6 separate regions of the Homo sapiens genome follow, and regions 2, 3, 4, 5 and 6 are each linked to region 1. Evidence: promoter capture Hi-C in 16 types of primary human blood cells and fetal thymus (Javierre and others, 2016). All regions are on one chromosome and are shown on one strand. The core of a region is centred on a gene start or on the middle of the fragment in contact, and the rest is flanking DNA. Distances in the headings are between cores, read along the strand shown. Region 1 holds the start of YPEL4 (yippee like 4). Region 2 overlaps LPXN (leupaxin). Region 3 overlaps CNTF (ciliary neurotrophic factor). Region 4 overlaps ZFP91 (ZFP91 zinc finger protein, atypical E3 ubiquitin ligase). Region 5 has its middle 19 kb from the start of CNTF. Region 6 overlaps LPXN (leupaxin).

Region 1 (3,212 bases), core at 131-2,630:
CACTCTGGCAATGCTAGAGCACTAAGCAGAGAAGAGGCAGTGTTGGCTCTGGTTAGCCAGGGCATACAGGCTCTCCTCGTCCTGTCCTCCGCAGTGGCCACAGGCACCCAGCTGTTCCACTCTCTCTGAAGGCCGCCAGGCAGTCTCTCCGCAAAACCTCCATAGAGACTATCTTCAGTTTCAGGTCCTCTCCTCCGGGCTGGGTCCCAGGAAGACACCTTGGGCTGAGTTCAGGGTGACATTGGGCTCCGGCTGCAGGAAACGGGCCCTCCTTGCCAAGAGACCACCTTTCAGTCTCTGCTTCACAGGTTTGCCTTCAACTTTGCCAGCGAGTTCCCCTCTGACATGCACCACCTTGAAACACCTTCTTCAAGGGGCATGGAGAATGGGGCAGCTTGGGTCCCCAATCCTGAGCTCCTTCTCCAGCCTCCGGCCGTCACGCCTCCCTCCCTCTCCCCTAATTCCCAGTCAAGCCAAGGAAAGGCTGCACAGAAGGCCAGAGAATCACAAAGGGGAGTAGGGGTCATTTTTTCACCCATCTCGGATCACAGGGAGAAGCAAGTTGGGCAAATGACTGGAGAAAAAACAAAGGCAAGCCGAGTGCTGGGGAGAGATGTTCCCCTGAAGTGAGACGGGGCTGGACCGTAGGAGAAAGGGGAGAGGGAGGGCTGGCGGGGGCAACTGACAGCTGACAGCAGAGGCGCCGAGGCGGAGGCTGGAGGAACCAGGTGCGAATCTCGTGCTTCTCAGGGGGGAAAAGAAAAGGGGGGGGACACCTGCTCACAATGGATTTTCTCATCTGCTCTGAGGTTTTGGCACCCCCCAGGCTGGTATTCTCAGTATGGTATGGTCCAAATAATTAGCAGCACCGCCAGCTCCCAGGGCAGGCTTTGGGGGTCTGCACCAGCAGCAAAACAATAAACAGTGATGCCTGATGCTGCAGCCAAAGTTGCCGGGAAATAAGTGCGGGAATCGTCAGAGCTTGGAGAGGGATGGAGGAACCGAGAGAGAGGAGCGGAGGCAGCGGGGAGGGGGAAGGGAGGACAAAGGGTGGATGAATAATGCTTTTGCAAAGGGGAGAAAGCAACACGCAGCAGGAGGAGGAAATTTGCAAAGAGAAAAAAATTCATTTGGAGAAGGGCTGCCCCCTCACCTTGAGGTCTGCTCCAGAGATCTCCGTCTATCTCTCTCTCTCTCTCTCAATCTCTCAATCTCTCTGCTCACTCTTCTCTCTTCTCTTTCCGCTCCTTCAATTGGGAAGGGGATGGGGGTGGGTGGGGGGAGGGTAGTTGGGGGCTCAAGACTGGGGCTGCAAAGCTGGCCAGCTGCTGGGGGGGCAGAGGTTGTCTCTCGTTCTGTACCTCGGTCTGTGGGTGAATGTGGCTGTGTGTTGTGGAACTGCATCATAACACTGTGAGTCATCCATCCCCCCCACCCCCCCTCACCTCCCACGTCAGAGCAGGGCTGGGAGACACAGGAGGCGGGTCGGAAGGAAGGGAGGGGGTAGGCATCAAGGGACGGGGCTAGAGGAGTGGGGGCCGAGGGACAAGGCGGCGATGGTGGGCAAGGGGAGAGGCAGGTTGTTAAGGAGGAAGGCAGTGGGGCCAAGGAGATACGAAGAACCTGGGGGAAGGACAGGGCTGGGCAAGGATGCAGTGAGGGTGGCAGGGCTGGAGGAAAGGAGGTGGCAAGGCTGGTGAAGGAAGAGATGGATGCAGAGTGAGGGAGCACACACACATTTAAGATGATACACTTTCCCATTTCAGCTTGGACACCAGCCCTGAAGCAGGGAAAAGACAGATGTACTAATTGTCATGGATGGCAAACTGTGCCCCCAAACTTGTACCAAGCCTCAAAGCCTTGGTTTAATACTCCTGAAGGAGTAATAGACCCAATGTGACATTTTGCATGCAGGAACCCCTTAACAGCTACCTCCATATTATGCGTGCTTCATGAATGGAGACACCTACGTTATATGAAGTTCTCTATTGGGCTGTAAACTTCCTGAGACAGGCCTTCTGGGAAATTACTCTCTACATCCCAGGACTGCAATGTCCAGTGCAGACCCGTGCATTTAGATGTTTCCAAAATAGCAGTTGTTTCCGCGGCATTATGTTCTGCTGGCCTAGAGGTCTTAGTTCCAGAGGGAGGAATGCTGCCACCAAGAGACACAACAATGATTCCATTAAACTGGAAGTTAAGATTGCCACCTGGCCACTTTGGGCTCTTCTTACTTTTAAGCCAACTTGCTAAGAAGGGAGTTACAGTGTTTGACCCAGACTATCAAGATGAAATCAGTCTACTACTCCACAATGGCGGTAAGGAAGTATGCGTGGAATACAGGAGATCACGTAGGGCGTCTCTTAATATTACCATGCCCTGTGATTAAGGTCAATGGGAAACTGCAACAGCCCAATCCAGGCAGGATGACAAATGGCCCAGACCCTTCAGGAATGAAGGTTTGGGTCACTCCACCAGGTAAAAAAAACATAATCTGCTGAGGTGCTTGCTGAAGGCAAACGGAATTCAGAATGGGTAGTCAAAGAAGGTAGTCATCAATACGAACTATGACCATGTGACCAGCTGCAGAAAATGAGGACTGTAATTGTCATGAGTATTTCCTCCTCCTTTTGTTAGGAACATGTTTGTGCATATATACACTTGTATTAAGAAAATATCTTCATTTTATTTCCTTTCTTTTGCCTTTATCATGTGACATAAGACTTACTGACTTGATATCAGCACTTAAGTGTTGTTAACTCTATGTAATAGCATTTGGGTTGGGGATTGGTGCGTTTCCGGTTGTACAAAGGATAGCTGTATTATGTTAAGCGTAATTATGACCTTATTATTGTCTTTATTTGAAGATCATGTATGATTTCAGGAGACGTGTATGGGTTCAAGTTGACAAGGGGTGGACTGGTGATGGTTAATATTGTCAACTAGATTGGATTGAAAGATGCAAAGTATTGTTCCTGGGTGTGTCTGTGAGGGTATTGCCAAAGGCGATTAACATTTGAGTCAATGGACTAGGAAAGGCAGACCCACCTCAATCTGGATGGGCACAATGTAATCAACTGTCAGCTAGGCCAGAATAAAAGCAGACAGAAGAACGTGGAAAGACCAGACTGGTTTAGCCTCTGAGCCTACGTCTTTCTCCCATGCTGGACGCTTCCTGCCCTCGAATATTGAACTCCAAGGTCTTCAACTTT
Region 2 (2,923 bases), core at 233-2,732, 920 kb after region 1:
CTCAAAAAAAAAAAAAAGAGCACTGTTCACTGAATATGTGTTTCATACGCTGCTAGATGAGACCATGGAAGAAGCTGGAAGGAGGTCTGTTAAGCCATAGTGGCTTACTTAATGCAAATACTGATAAGAAAACTTTAAATAAAATTGAAGATCTGGGGTAAAAAGTAAAGTTAATAGGATGTGAGAAAAACAAGCATAAACCCAGGACTCTTTCAGGTAAACCAGGATATATGGTCACCCCAGAAAGATCAACATGAAACTATGGCTTTTACTCCAAATGAGATGGGAGTCATTTTGGGGTTTTGAGTAGAAGAATGACAGGGTCTGACTTTAGTTTTTAAAGGTGACCCTGGCTGCTTGAGAACAGACTGCAGTGGGGCAAAGGGCAGGAGACCACTTAGGAGCCTACAGCTATAATCTAACACTGAGAACAAAGACAATAGTTCCCTAGTAGAGAGATAAATTCGTATCGTTAAAATTGTGTATGTGTCTGGAGAAAAGAACAGTTAGGGCGTAAACTACCCCTGAGCTCAAATTTCAGGTCTGTGCTTCTGGCTATTTCATACAGGGAACAATGATGAATCAAAATATCATAGTACAAAATTACCAGCTATGAAGAGCATCTACTTAATTCATCTTACACTAATTCCATTCTCATCAAGCAACCTTTTAATTATAATGTACGTCCATATAGACTTATCCATAGGAAGAGAATGCATATATGAGTAAATATAGCTGTTTTACTTGATAGCTTTAACTGTAAATTTGATTTCTGAGTTTTGTTTTTTTTTTGTTTGTTTGTTTTTTGAGACAAGCTCTCATTCTGTCGCCCAGGCTGGGATGGAGTGGCGCAATCATAGCTCACTGCAGCCTCGACCACCTGGGCTTAAGCAATCCTCCTGCTTCAGCCACCTGAGTGGCGGGGACCATAGGCACGCACCACCACACCCTGCTCATTTTTTAATTTTTCGTAGAGATGGGGGTCTCACCATATGGCCCAGGCTGGTCTCAAACTCCTGGCTTCAAGTGATCCCCCCGCCTCAGCCTTCCAAAGTGCTGAAATTACAGGCCTGAGCCACTGCACCTGCCCTAGGTTTTTAAAATATATATATAATCACTTGTCAATTTGGTTAGTTTGAGTTGGTTCCCTAGAGCTTCATCATCTCTATATAAACTAATAATTGAATCTCCTAATCTATTCAGCAGAAAATAAGACCTGGGAAGTAGTGACCCTAAAAAGTCACCCTGAGAAGACTTGTCTATGCTGCCACCTGGCCTTCCTCAGGTGATCTCTGGCCTGAGTACCATTCCAGTCAAACTGCAACAGGCATCTCTGATGCCCCCACAGTAACATCAGAATATCCCCAGTGAATGCAATACTCTGCCTGTGACCATGTGCTCATTAGAAAAAATGTAGTTCTCGGCTGGGCGTGATGGCTCATGCCTGTAATCCCAGCAATTTGGGAGGCCAAGGCGGGTGAATCACCTCAGGTCAGGAGTTTGAGACCAGCCTGGCCAACATGACAAAACCCGTCTCTACTAAAAATACAAAAATTAGCTGGGCATGGTGGTGCGTGCCTGTAATCCTAGCTATTTGGGAGGCTGAAGCAGGAGAATCGCTTGAACCTGGGAGGTGAAGGTTGCAGTGAGCCGAGATTGTGCCACTGCACTCCAGCCTTGGAGACAGAGTGTGACTCTGTCTCAAAAAATAAAAAAAAAATAAAAAAAATAAAAAAAATAAAAAAAATTTAGTTCTCAAAAACTCATTCCTCTGTGATGATTTTCTCAATTCTCTTCCTCTTTCCAAAAACATCTTTAGATTAACATTGAGGCATTATTTTTTCTCTTTCTTGGATATATTATTCTCCTTTCATATTATTTTATGTGGGATTCTGTTAATTTTCAGAAATGCACTCAAACATCCATGTTTAAGGACTATAATAAATGAAAATTTACCGGCAAGGGACTTGTGTTATCCTGAATAGAAAGGATCTCCGAAGTCTCATCAAGGTTAGTCTCCTTTCTGGAATGCTGATCCAGGGGAAGAGGAGCTGGGTTGGAATATTCATCACTGTCCTGAAGGGTGGAGCGTTCCAGTTCCTCCAATAAGGCATCTACACCATAAGAAGCAAGAGAATCATGACAGAGAATATTTAAATCCCTACAGTCATTTTCTCCTTAAATATCTTCACTGTGCCCACATTCATCTCCTTTTCTTCAATTATGGCTATTTTCAAATACTTTCCCTTATTCCTTATTTCACTTCAAGAATGTGGTGAATCCTACCAAGAAATGTTTAACACCTCCATAAATTGTGGTTTGTTTCTTATTTTCTATGGTTGCATTCAATTTCATAGTCTCATGCTATAATTTGATTTTTTATACCACAGGTATTAATTTTCATCATTCATTTAGGGTAGATTCCCCACAAATATCCTTAATTAGAAAAAAATAAAACTGGGCTGGGTATAGTGGCTTATGCCCATAATCTTAGCACTTTGGAAGGCTGAGGCGGGAGGATCCCTTGAGCCTAGGAGTTCCAGACCAGGGCAACATAGCAAAATCCAGTCTGTATGAAAAATACAAAAAAGTCAGCCCAGCATGGTGATGCACACCTGTGGTCCCAGCTACTTGGGAGGCTGAGGTGGGAGGATCACCTGAGCCTAGGTGAGCCTGCGATGAGTCGAGATCACGCCACCACACTCCAGCAGCCTGGGCCAAAGGAGTGATACCCTGTCTCAAAAAATAAATAAATAAATAAATAAATAAATAAATAAATAAATCCTAAATGCTTTTTTCTATCAGAAAAATAGAAGCAATTATATTACCATTTTTCAAAACATACGAGGGAAATAACACTTATTCTTAATCCTAATGATATTTTTTCTTAAATCTTAACAATTATCCTGAGCACGTAACAAAA
Region 3 (2,960 bases), core at 305-2,804, 980 kb after region 1:
GAAAAATCCATAGGTAGTCAATTTCAGGCAGTATTGGGTCTTTCTAAAGTCCAGTCATAGAGCCCAAATTAAGAGTTCCTACTGTAGACATATTATTTACTTTACAACTTGGATCCTTGGCCAGAGAGATGAGTGAGATTTTGTATGAAATTTAGGGGTGATTTAAGGACACTGGGGTGATGACAGAAGATGTGGTGTTTTCCTGTATCCTCGGCCAGGTGAAGCATCAGGGCCTGAACAAGAACATCAACCTGGACTCTGCGGATGGGATGCCAGTGGCAAGCACTGATCAGTGGAGTGAGCTGACCGAGGCAGAGCGACTCCAAGAGAACCTTCAAGCTTATCGTACCTTCCATGTTTTGTTGGCCAGGCTCTTAGAAGACCAGCAGGTGCATTTTACCCCAACCGAAGGTGACTTCCATCAAGCTATACATACCCTTCTTCTCCAAGTCGCTGCCTTTGCATACCAGATAGAGGAGTTAATGATACTCCTGGAATACAAGATCCCCCGCAATGAGGCTGATGGGATGCCTATTAATGTTGGAGATGGTGGTCTCTTTGAGAAGAAGCTGTGGGGCCTAAAGGTGCTGCAGGAGCTTTCACAGTGGACAGTAAGGTCCATCCATGACCTTCGTTTCATTTCTTCTCATCAGACTGGGATCCCAGCACGTGGGAGCCATTATATTGCTAACAACAAGAAAATGTAGCAGTTAGTCCCTTCTCTCTTCCTTGCTTTCTCTTCTAATGGAATATGCGTAGTTCCCTGGGGCCTCGCTTTCCCATCTTAAATTTCTAAAAACAGTTAAGACAACAGGCATTTTCTTTCTTTTTTCTCTGACCACCTGCAGCCTGTTGAAGGACTACAGGTATTTTCATCAAGTAGCGTTGGAGACATACACAAATGGGCATACAAGTTTAGCCTGGGGGGTGTGATTTGTGTGCGTGCTTGCATGTGCTGCAGGTGTAAGAGAGTGGGAGCAGGGACAACGTCCTTCCACTTCAGGGTTCTAACCTTTCTAACCCACTAAGTAACCTCTACAGGCATTTAACTGCCTTACAGACAGAATATACATATGTTAATTCTAGTCCTGGATGACTCGGTCTGAGAAGATTCAATTTAAAATCAGACTCTTTAGTTGATTTAAACTCTTAGAGAATAAGAATAATAATGGCTAACTTTTATTATCTTCTATATTAAGGCAGTATGCCAAGGGTCTTTATGTATATTATGTACAGCGTTTACAACCTTGTGAGCAAGGTGGTGTTACTCCCATTAGGTAGATGAGAAAACAGGCTCACAGAGATTTGGTTAAGCTCACACAGCTAACAAGTAGCACACTGAGTTTGAACACAGATCATTCTCCTTGTAAAAGCCTATGTGCCTTTCACTTTAGAGGCTTGATCATGAATCACTGCACCTCTTTGTCACAGGGTGTTGGAAGATGCATCCATGTAATCTATTCCCATCGCTGGAAAACAGCTGCTGTTAGATGTCCTCAGAAGTCAGTTGCAAATTTTAGCGTTAAAGTCAGGATTTATTGTTCATACTTGGCGGTGAGGAGGGCAGCTGGAGATCTTAAGATTCCATTTTGGAAAATGATTAGGCCCGCCAAACTTCTGAACTTTGGAAGCTGGGGATGTTTAGTAATACAGCCTGGTTTTTAAGTACTCACTAAAAGTTCTCAAATATTGGGTTGGGCACGGCTTATACCAGGTTACCTCACTTTTAATTAGTGATGCAGGCAGTGTAACCCAAGCATTTGTGGACAATGAGTGGAATACTAAAGTTAAAAAGTCAAACTTTCACCTCAGATTTTCTGGACTTAGTCATGAGGAGAGGGTGAGGCCCACTCTGTTCCTACTGGAGATACCAGAGACTCTGAAACTATAGAATAAAGCCTCTGTGCTGCACAACAAAGGGGCAGGCTCTGCTTTTATTTCTTGTAAGAACCAACATAGTATGAAAGGTTGGTCAATGCGGACATTAATGGAAAAGGCCATGTACTGGTGGTGTGATGTGAATCCAGAAATTTTCAAGTGTGTCATTTATTTTATACTTATCAATTAAAACTCAAGATCATGGATTGGGAGACCAAGTTAATTTAATTAACTGGGGCTTCTGTATTCGTAAATGAACCATGAGTCAGGGCTAACTCCCATAGGTTTCATGAGGTGTGGATGAGTAGCTTAGCTTGTATCCTTTCTCACATGGGTGTGTGTACAAAACTCCATGAAGTCACTATTACCAGAGTACTCTGGGCTAGGCATTGTAACAGTTCAGGGAAAGTAAGGCCCTGCTTTCTAATATGCATTTGTGGCAATATGGTTGTGAGTGTGTATACACACACACGTACATTACTGTGATCAGTGATGCAGACAGTGTAACCCAAGCCTTTGTGGACAGTGAGTGGAATACTACTCAAGTTAAAAAGTCACAGAACTCCTTCACCTCACATTCTCTGGACTTAGTCATGAGGAGAGGGTGAGGCCTACTCTGTTCTCACTGGAGATACCAGAGATTCTGTAAACACACAAACACACACACACACACACACACACACACATAGTCGAAATTATAAGTCCCAGGTTTGTTAGGAAGCTAAAGGAAGGAGAGGGGCCCAAAGTAGTTTCCCGGAGGAGGTAGGAGTTGTGTCTCAGTACAAAACTACAAAATACTCTGTACTGGTTGAGTACAAAAGAGAAGTCATGAGAGAAGGGAAGAGGTGATCATTTGTAATTTTGGCACTGAATGTATAGTCTTATTCCATTCAAGCTTTCTCTTAATTCTGCTTAACAGCAGCATTCTCAAATAATAAAATTTCTGCTTATTAATATGAAGCTCTTAGAGCTATCTGGATAATACTTCTGTTCAATGGAGAAATATGTCTACAATTTCTTAATGGGGAATAACTGACTATGAATTTGCTGCATCTAAAATGACCCCATCAATTATACATGTA
Region 4 (2,974 bases), core at 285-2,784, 950 kb after region 1:
ATACTTAAAACAATGAATGTTATATGTTGGTCATATATTCTGGCACTTTGAATAAAGGTAATAATTATTTTCTTAATTTCCTTTTTGTTCATTGCTAATATGCTTAAAACAATGAATGTTACGTGTTGGTATTATATTCTGGCCCTTCGAATTTGTATATGACCTTTAACAGTTTTCTTTTGTGAAAATTCTTTAGAATTTTCTATATGTAAGGTCTTTTCACCTGCAAATAGAGATACAGTTTTACTTCTTCCTTTTCACTTTGGGTGCCTCTTTTTTTACTTGAGTAATTACTTGGCTAGAACTTCCAGTACAGTGTTGAATGGAAGTGAAGAATGAGGGCATCCTTGTCTTGTTCCTGACCTTAGCAGGAGAGCTTTGTCTTTTACCACTGCGTATGATGTGAGCTCTGGGGTTTTTAAAGGTGTTCTTTGTCAAGTTGAGGAAGTTCAATTCTATTCCCAGTTTTTTGTGTGTTCTTATCATGAAAGTTTAATTTTGTCAGGTTCTTTTTCTTTTTTCTACATCAATTGAGATAATGGTGTGTTTTTTCCTCTCTTTATTAATGTGGGATATTACATATGTTTTTGTATATCGAACCACCCTCATAATCCTGGGACCTGTCTCAATTGATTATAGTGTTTAATCTTCTTAATATGATGCTATATTTGGTTTGCAAGGGATATTGGCTTATGGTTTTTTGTGGTGTCTTTGTCTGGCTTTGGTGTCAGAATAATGCTGTGTTTATAGGATGTGTTGGGAAGTGTTCCATCTTCTATTTTTTAAGAGAGTTTGAGGAAGACTGGAGTTAATTCTTTAAATGTGTGGTAGAATCAACCAATGAAACCATCTAGAGGCTTCTGGCCTTTTTATTGGGAGCTTTTTGTTTACTGACTCAGTTGTCTACTTGTTAAAGATATGTTCATCTTTTCCATTTCTTGTTGAATTGTTTTTGGTAATTTGTGTGTGCCTAAGAAGTTGTTGATTTCATCTATGTTATTTGTTGGCAAACAGTTGTTCATTGTGTTTTCTTATGTTTATTTCAGTGGTAGTGTCCCATTTTCATTTCTGGTTTTAGTAATTTGGGTCTTCTCTTATTAACCAAAAGTTTGTTGATTTTGTTATCTTGTCAAAGAACCAACTTATTTACTTTATTCTGCTAGCTTTGGGTTTACTCTGCTCCTTTTTTCCTAGCTCTTATGGGTATGATGTTAGGTTATTGATTCAGGCATGTGATTTTTTTTTTTTTCTATTTTAATGTAGGCATTTATATCTAGAAATTTTACTCTGAGAACTGCTTTCACTGCATCCCCTAGGTTTTGGGATATTTTGTTTTCATTTTCAGTCATCTCTAAGTATTTTGTAATTTTCCTTGTGATTTATTCTTTGATCCATTGGTTTAACAGTGTGTTAATTTTCATGTATTTGTGAGTTTTCTAGTTTTCCTTCTGATATTGATTTCTAGTTTCATTCAATTGTGGTCAGAGAGAACGTACTTTATATGACTGCAGCCATTTGAAATTTATTGAGACTTTTCAATATGTCTGTGAATTTTTTTTTTCCCCCAAGATGGAGTCTCGTTCTATCGCCCAGGCTGGAGTGCAGTGGTGTGATCTTGGCTCAATGCAACCTCCACCTCCTGGGTTCAAGCAGTTCTCCTGCCTCAGCGTCCTCGAGTAGCTGGGACTACAGACACACGCCACCATGCCCGGCTAATTTTTGTATTCTTAGTAGAGACAGGGTTTCGCCATGTTGGCCAGGCTGATCTCAAACTCCTGACCTCAGGTGATCTGCCTGCCTCAGCCTCCCAAAGTGTTGGGATTACAGGTGTGAGCCACTGCGCCTGGCCCAATATGTCTGTTTTTTAACATTATGTCTAATTTTGTCTAATATGTCTAATTTTTTAATTTTGCTTGAGTTCTGTATTTCCTTATCAAACTTCTGACTGGTGTTTGGTTCTGTTATTGAAAGTGGGATACAGATGTCTCCATTTTTGTGATTGTGGTATTACCTGTTTCTCTTCAGTTCTGTAAATCTTTGCTATGTATGTTATATGTTGATATATCTCGAGAGAGAGATGGGGGGAGAGGGAGAGGGGGCCTGTGTTAGCTATGTATAGGTTTATATTTATTATATTTTCTAGATTGATTGACCCTCTCATTAACGTATAATGTTCTTTGTGTTTTGTAACAGTTGTTGAAGTGCATTTTGCCTGATATTAGTAGGGCCACCTTTACGAGTTGAATTGCTTTCCTCAAAAGATGTTGAAGTCTTAACTCAGGTACCTGTGAATGGAACATTGAGAAATAGGGGCTTTGTAGTAAATAGGCTTTTGTGGTAATTTGTTATGGCAGCCCTAGGAAACTAATACATTTTGGTATTGGAAGTGGGCTATGAAAAAGTACCTAAAAATGTTGGCATAGCTTTGGGATTGGGTAATGGATATTGGCTTTGAGTATTTTGAGGTATGGTGCATGCCTCTAATCCCAGCTATACTCGGGAGGCTGAGGCAGGAGAATTGCTTGAACCTAGGAGGCGATGATTGCGGTGAGCCAAGATTGCGCCGTTGCACTCCAGCCTGGGCAACAAGAGTGAAACTCTGTCTCAAAAAAAAAGAAAAGAAAAAACAGCGTAGATTGCCTTGAAGAGATGGTCAACAGAAATATGAGTGTTAAAGGCAGTCTGATGAGGCCTTAGAAGGAAATGATGAACATGTTATTGGACAGTGGAGAAAAGGTGATCCTTGTTATAAAGTTGCAGAGAACTTGACTGAATTGTGTTCTATCATTGGGTAAGCAATGAACTTGGATATTTATCTGAGTAGATTTACAAACAACGTGTAGAAGGTATAGCCTTGTTTCTTCTTGCTTATATACTAATGTGTGAGAGGAAAGATATAAATTGAGGAATGAATTGTTTAGCAAAAAGGAGCCAGCACTTGATAATTTGAAAATTTTTTAGTCTGTCCAAATAG
Region 5 (3,224 bases), core at 647-3,146, 990 kb after region 1:
AGTGCTCTTTCAATGTAATGCTTCTTTCCAATCTCTATGTTTGCATTCTTTTATTAAAAAGTGTGATTGATTTATCATAAGGGAACCTGGGACTGGATTATTTGCTGGAGAGATGGCTGTCTTCTGGGAAACAAATCTTTTTTCCCTCTTGTTTCTTCCCAGGACAGGGATAAGTAATCATGCTGCTCAGTCCCCTAGCCTCCTGACCTGGGAACAAGTGCTTCATGGCATTATAAATTCAAAGGAGTCTGGGAATTCAGCATGTTTGGTTATATCTCTTTCCCAGAACCTGGCACCAGTCTGTGGGCATTTCATAGCTGTAGATACAAGTGAAAATAATCATGCTTTGGCTGAATGGTGGTGAATCATTTGCTGACAAGGACAAGATACCAACAGGAGGAGGGCAAGGAAAACTCTCTGAGGATGTTTTGTTTTCAGCCCTGGGCAGCATTTGCTGAGCTGGGAGATTAGGAGGCATCATTTGGTGCCCAGTACTCACATCCCCCAATTGTTCAGAGGCAGTGTAAGGACGATGCAGGCAAGACAGTCTTCAGAGTCAGATGCCAAGTCCTCATGTGACCTTAGAAAAGAAGTGTGACTTCCTGTAAAACAGGAACAAACAGGACTTTTTAGCTGTTAACTTAAAAAAATTACAACACATGCTTGTTATGGAAAATTAAAAGTGTAAAGAGGTTATATAAGGTAAAAAATACCTTCTTCATCCAGCTGTGCTTCCCAGAGATAACCACTGTAAATAGGAGGTGTGTCACCTTCCAGACATGTTTCTATGTGTGCACACATGGACCCAGGCACATAGGCACATACTACTTTCTTTTACAAAAATATAATAGTGCCAGGCCATATATACTTTTGCCTATGGAGAAGCTGATTCCCAGAGAAAAGAAGTGATGTGCACAAGGTCACACAAAGACAGATTGGAGCAGAGATGGCCCTGACCCTGTGTCTCTTGCCTGTATTTCCAGACTCAGACCGCCTCCTACCCTGCCTCACTCTCTTGGGCTGTGTGCATTCTAATTGAGCACCATAGGGGATACAAATGCAGACAATTATTCTGGCAGATAGTCAAGGGCAATAGTCAAAATATTTACTACTCTGCAAGTTGCAGCCCCAGCCAATCAGAACTAACATTGGCTGCAAATGACCTTCCTGAGGTTACTGGCTAAATATTGGCCCTGCATGTAGGAGTCTCATTTCACACCCTACATATCTCTCCACGGATGGCTGGGAAGGAATCCATGAATGAATAAATGAGGATGCAAAGTGATCTGAAATAATATCGCAAAGGAAGAAAAACTTCTTTCAATAGAAGTGTAATGTTATCAACTGCAGTGTTATCTGCCTATATATTTTTACAATCAGAGCCCTGTGAAAGGAGAAGAGGCAATAATAGAAAATGAAGGAAATAGAAAGGAGATGTTTATTGGAGTTCAACAGAACTGGACTCGAGATATGGCTCTGCGCTTAGTGGCTCTCAGACCCTGGGCAAGTGACTTAATCTCCTTGACTTTTTTTTTTTTTTTCCTGTAAACATCTGTGAATGTGAGGAGGAGAGGCACAAAAAGTAACTTAACCATGATTATACTAATTAAGGGACAGATAGGCTGAGGGGTCTGAGGGACTTTTAGTCTAGTGGGCTTATAATTTAATGTCAGGGGTAGCCCAGGGATCCTGAATTTTGCCAACAGAAAAATCATGAGATCTATGCAGATTTGGACACAGGACTTTATTTCTCATAAAGGGTTATAGCCTGCCAATGGTCATCCTGACAGGCTGAGAAGTGTACCTTCAACAGAGACCGAAAGGCAGTACTTTGAAGAAGGAGGGGTTGAGGCAGGAGCTTTATGCTACATAGGTTGGCTAAATATACATATTCAACAGGTTACAGGAGAAGCTATGAATATTCACCAAGTGGTTTCTGATGCATGCATACTGAATAAACATGCATGCTACAAATGATCTATGTTCATATTGGAGAGGGTACTTAACATTTAAATTTATTACAATGAGGCTGTCTATATTTCAGAAGATAAAACAGGGACATAAATGTTCTCAAGTGCAAAGCCTCTATAAAACCGACCAGAACCAGTCCATAGTCGGTGGTCTTTTACCAGGAAAGTTACTGAAATCTCTTTCTTGTCTAATCAAAGCTGTAGTTATGGCTTGTGGAACAGGAGGTCGGTTAGTCAGCACATGGTGGTGAATGAGCTGCAGTTATTTTAATATTGCTTTCCTTGAGGCCAGTGCTTGTTGAGCTGCTTAAGAAAGAAAAACCTTGTGGCAGTTAAAACAAAGTTTATTCTTTAAGTGTAGGGGTGCGTGACTTAACCTTTGCCTGACATGGGCGTAGGTCCTGTTTATAATTGGATATCTTACTGCCACAAAGAGTCTGTTCTGTCAGTCATATGATCTCTATTTTAACATTCATGCTGGTCAGTTGGTGTGTCTGTATACAAAAGGGAGAGGATATAACGAGGCTTGTGTGATCTCTTGTCTCCTTATGGCCAGGAACTCCATTTTTAAGGTTTCTCTGAGGTCTCCTTGGCCAAGAGAGAGTCTGTTCAATTGGTTGGGGTGGGTGCTTAAGGTTTAAATTTTAGTTCTCAATCCCATATAGGGTCTTGAGACCTTTCTCATCCTCGATTCAATCTGAGGGCAATTCTGAGTTAAATCTCCAAATAACTTCTATTCTCTCCTTGTGCACCTCATCTCTACCCCAACATACACAGGAGAAGATCACCTGAACAATAAACTTGTAGGTTTAAAGAAACTACTAGGCACCTGGCAATCCCTTGCTTCCTGCAGTCTTCCTGTCTTTCTTGAGATACTTTTTCTTAAGGATTTCTCATGGGTCTGCCTCACTTGACAATGGATATATATACTCTCAGTATTTAGCGTGGAGAAGACCCAGACTCATGAAAGAGATGCAGAGAACTAGCAGGGAGAGACAGAGACAGAGACAGAGAAAAGCCATGACTAGCATCACTAAATTAACCATGTCCTCGAGACTCATAATTCATACCATCGTTATATGTTCTCTAGGTAATTTCTGCAACCTTCCAACAAGTATTCCCATCTCCTGAAGGACAGCTGGGATCATGGCAAACTCTGAGACAAAAACCTGCAGTGGCTCGTTGTTTATAGCATTGGCTCCCAATTAAGCCTGTTAAAAATAGAGGTTTTGGGTTTCAATGTATGGAACTTTA
Region 6 (3,148 bases), core at 454-2,953, 900 kb after region 1:
AATCTCTTCTTTGCAATGAGTACAGACAAAATGCTCAGGATGCCATGATTGCCCTAGAGCATGGATCACCTGTGGAGTGAAATAAAGCCTGACACAGGAGGCCAGTTGAGTGCTCTACAGCCTACAGGTTGCACAACTCTAGGGAGCACTCTTCACATTGTACCCCTTGTAGACAACACGCCCTGGAATTATACAACACTGAGGCCTAGACCTAGGTTCCACCTAAGGCCATCTGTGGTCTGTGCTTTATGGATTGATAATAAAAGGATGCCCACTTCCGGGACTGATCACTGTGATGAAAGCCTGTAAATGTTCACAACCACTGCACTGCCACAGGGGGTGGCAGAAACAACATATAGCACATTGATGACAGAGAAGTTGTAACTGTAGCCTTAGTGTGGAAGGGACCCCTGGAAGAGGAAAAGGCCAAATGACAGTTTTTATTCCTCTAGTTTGAACACTTTATTCCACGCCCCATGCAGTCAGGTCTCAAAGCTTTTTATCATAGCTTCGGTGAAGGACGATGCAGAACAGGAGTTTGCAGCTGTGACTTGGAGCTGAGTTCAGCTGAAAATTGTAATCAATCAATTTAGACTGGGAATGTGTGAACAAAGGGAGCAGTGAGAAAGGTCATCTCAGTAAAGGCAGTACAGAAAAATGGTCAAGAACTCAAACTCAGGAGACAGTCTCCTGGTTTCAGATCTTACCTCTACCTCTTATTATGCCTTGGATATGTCCATTAATGTCTCTGAGTCCTCAGTTTCCTCATCTTTACAAAGGGAGCAATCATTCTTCTTGAAGGGCTGATGTGACCATTAAATGAGGAAATACTTGTAAAGCACTTAGCTCAGTGGCCAGAGCACTGTAAGTGATTAGTAATTATTAATGCTAACTAAAATATCTTAAAATATAAGGGGAAAGAGCAAACCTTGATGAGACAGAGAGAGACAAAGAAGGCTGTAGGACCAAAATTTCAGCCCATCTCACCTTCCCAGCAATCGGTTTCTGGCAGGATGCACAATGGCCCTTGGGCACTGTGGCAATGCCAAGGTCCTGCAATTCCTGCTCCAGACCCCCAAGCATTGAGTCCAGGGAGGCCTTGTGATCCTGCTTGTCTGGTAAGTGCTTCTTGCCAGCATCTGCTCTCACTGCAACCTGGCCCAAGGGAAGAACCAAGAACAGAATCAGCCTCATTTTTATTCTCATTGGCATCTTCTAATGACTCTATAAATTCACCTCTACTGACTGATCTCTTGGCCTTTCCCCAACCTTCCTGCAAGACATTGGAAAAATCTAAAATTTCAACACCAATAAAAATCTTTTCATCTCCCTTTCATCCTAAACTCCTCAGGCCAAATGAAATCTGACTAATTTTATATTTGTAAATCTTTTCTTAATGTAGGAAATTTAGTACATGAAGATGATACCCTTTGAAGATCTTAGGATGACCCCAGTTCAAAAATTAGTCACATCTCCCTTTTACTCATTTATTTGGCAATAATTGTTGAATACCTGGTTTGTGCCAATCACTGCTCTAAGCACTTGGATTAAAGCAAAGATAAGACAGACCAAGTGTCTGGCCTCATGGAATTGCATTCTGTGGGCGATAGACAATAAATAATTAAATAAATAAATATATGTTGTAATGTCAGACAGAGATAAGTTATAGAAAGAGATAGAAGGGACACAGCAAGATGGTAAGAAGAATTGATTTAGATGGAGGTAATAATCAAAGAAGGCCCCTCTAAGGAAGTAATATTTGAGTAGATACTTGGGACTTAGAAATATTGACATTTATGGGAAAAGCATTCTAGGGGAAGGGAAGGCCCCGAGGAATAAAACAACTTGGCACATTAGAAGAAAAGTCAAAGAGGTCAGTGGGGCTAGAGCAGAGGGAGTGAGATTGAACACGGCAGGAGAAGGTGATGGAGAGAGAGGCAAAGATCACATAGGAACCTCATGGTAAACGCTTGGGTTTTATTCCAAGGTGATGGAAGCCATTGCAGGATTTCAAGCACAGGAGTGAAGGAATCTGGAGGATCCCTGTGGTAGCTGAGTGGAGAACTAAGTGTTGACAAGCAAGAGTGAATACAGGGAGATTTTCAGATAATGACTTAGATCAGTATTACAGGAGAAGGTGGTGAGAAGTGGTCAGATAAGACTTGTTGATGGATTGGAATTATTTAAGCAAAAGCCCAAAATTATTATAAACCATTCAAAGAAGGATCCTCAAATTAAAAGAAAAAAAAAAAAGGCTAACTGACCCTTCATAACCTCATAACCTGATTCTGGCTCTCTCTACTCCTTTCCAGCTGGGCGACTGCTACCATCTATCTACTGAATACTTCACTCATCAGAAAACTACAATGGCTCTCCATTGCCACCACATCAAGTCTTCACTCATCAGACAGACATTCAAAGCCTCCCATCCACTGTCCTCCCTTTTTATCTTTCCCAATTTCATCTTTTATTAATACTATGTTGTAAAAGGACAGCTGGGCTCTTCATCTCCTGAATGTGATCTGTTACTGTCTGCCTTAAGACCTCTACTTATCCTACTTTTACTGCCTGTTATAACATCACACTGTCACCAATCAAAATGCTCATTTTGCTTCGAGACATTTTGATCATCTGACAGACATCCTTCCTTCTCTAATATATGTTAGTTAATATTCAAGAGGTTAGTGTTCAGAAGGTTAGTGTCTGAAAGGTCTGAAAGGGTGACTGACATTAATTATGAAAAATAAGTAAAAATACAATATAACTACATCTACACCTACATCTCTATCTCTTCACTGTTATCTTCCAGAATACTTCTGAACAGATATAGAAGAGACAGGAAATTCTGCCTATCTCCGGTGGGGCAGAACTGGATGGCTAGGGTGCAGAGCTGAGAAGGAAACAGTTCAGTGCAAGCTTTTTGCACTTTTGATTTGTGTACAATGTGAAAGTGCAGCTTATTCAAAAGATAAATGGGGCCGGGCACAGTGGTTCATGCCTGTAATCCTAGTACTTTGAGAGGCCGAGGCAGACAGGTGGCCTGAGCTTAGAAGTTTGAGACCAGTCTGGGCAACATAGCAAAACCTCGTCTCTACTAAAAATACAAAAATTAGCTGGGCATGGTGGCACACGCCTGTAATCACAGCTA

Evidence for each region. Contacts are between HindIII fragments. The CHiCAGO score rates a contact against its expected background, and 5 or more counts as called.
Region 2: a fragment that was not itself captured here is called in contact with the fragment with the promoter of YPEL4 in region 1 in 11 of 17 cell types (naive CD8 T cells, non-activated CD4 T cells, neutrophils and 8 more); the score reaches 21.4 in naive CD8 T cells.
Region 3: a fragment that was not itself captured here is called in contact with the fragment with the promoter of YPEL4 in region 1 in 5 of 17 cell types (naive CD8 T cells, total CD4 T cells, naive CD4 T cells and 2 more); the score reaches 7.6 in naive CD8 T cells.
Region 4: a contact is called between a fragment that was not itself captured here and the fragment with the promoter of YPEL4 in region 1, in 4 of 17 cell types (naive CD8 T cells, total CD4 T cells, non-activated CD4 T cells and 1 more). The highest score is 7.5, in naive CD8 T cells.
Region 5: a contact is called between a fragment that was not itself captured here and the fragment with the promoter of YPEL4 in region 1, in 5 of 17 cell types (total CD4 T cells, naive CD8 T cells, total CD8 T cells and 2 more). The highest score is 10.6, in total CD4 T cells.
Region 6: a fragment that was not itself captured here is called in contact with the fragment with the promoter of YPEL4 in region 1 in 8 of 17 cell types (total CD8 T cells, naive CD8 T cells, total CD4 T cells and 5 more); the score reaches 11.4 in total CD8 T cells.

What each region holds. Positions count from the first base shown.
Region 1 is chr11:57,648,532-57,651,743 of GRCh38, forward strand. YPEL4 (yippee like 4) reads right to left here and starts at 1,381. Exons shown (of 5, transcript NM_145008.3): 1 at 1,154-1,381. It overlaps MIR130AHG (MIR130A host gene), which reads left to right. Exons shown (of 2, transcript NR_186232.1): 2 at 1,767-3,212. The HindIII fragment of the contact is 14,007 bases long and covers 1-3,212 here.
Region 2 is chr11:58,568,600-58,571,522 of GRCh38, forward strand. LPXN (leupaxin) reads right to left here. Exons shown (of 9, transcript NM_004811.3): 2 at 1,957-2,114. Among named protein-coding and RNA genes, the nearest start is that of LPXN, 5.8 kb to the right of the region's middle. The HindIII fragment of the contact is 6,686 bases long and covers 1-2,923 here.
Region 3 is chr11:58,623,816-58,626,775 of GRCh38, forward strand. It overlaps CNTF (ciliary neurotrophic factor), which reads left to right. Exons shown (of 2, transcript NM_000614.4): 2 at 219-1,918. The coding sequence ends at 707. It overlaps ZFP91-CNTF (ZFP91-CNTF readthrough (NMD candidate)), which reads left to right. Exons shown (of 13, transcript NR_024091.1): 13 at 219-1,918. Among named protein-coding and RNA genes, the nearest start is that of CNTF, 2.6 kb to the left of the region's middle. The HindIII fragment of the contact is 2,434 bases long and covers 338-2,771 here.
Region 4 is chr11:58,600,374-58,603,347 of GRCh38, forward strand. All of the region lies in intron 2 of ZFP91 (ZFP91 zinc finger protein, atypical E3 ubiquitin ligase), which reads left to right. The region is part of intron 2 of ZFP91-CNTF (ZFP91-CNTF readthrough (NMD candidate)); the gene reads left to right. Among named protein-coding and RNA genes, the nearest start is that of CNTF, 21 kb to the right of the region's middle. The HindIII fragment of the contact is 3,643 bases long and covers 1-2,974 here.
Region 5 is chr11:58,640,075-58,643,298 of GRCh38, forward strand. No RefSeq gene overlaps it. Among named protein-coding and RNA genes, the nearest start is that of CNTF, 19 kb to the left of the region's middle. The HindIII fragment of the contact is 4,055 bases long and covers 1-3,224 here.
Region 6 is chr11:58,550,078-58,553,225 of GRCh38, forward strand. LPXN (leupaxin) reads right to left here. Exons shown (of 9, transcript NM_004811.3): 5 at 988-1,155; 6 at 1-69. Among named protein-coding and RNA genes, the nearest start is that of LPXN, 24 kb to the right of the region's middle. The HindIII fragment of the contact is 2,421 bases long and covers 494-2,914 here.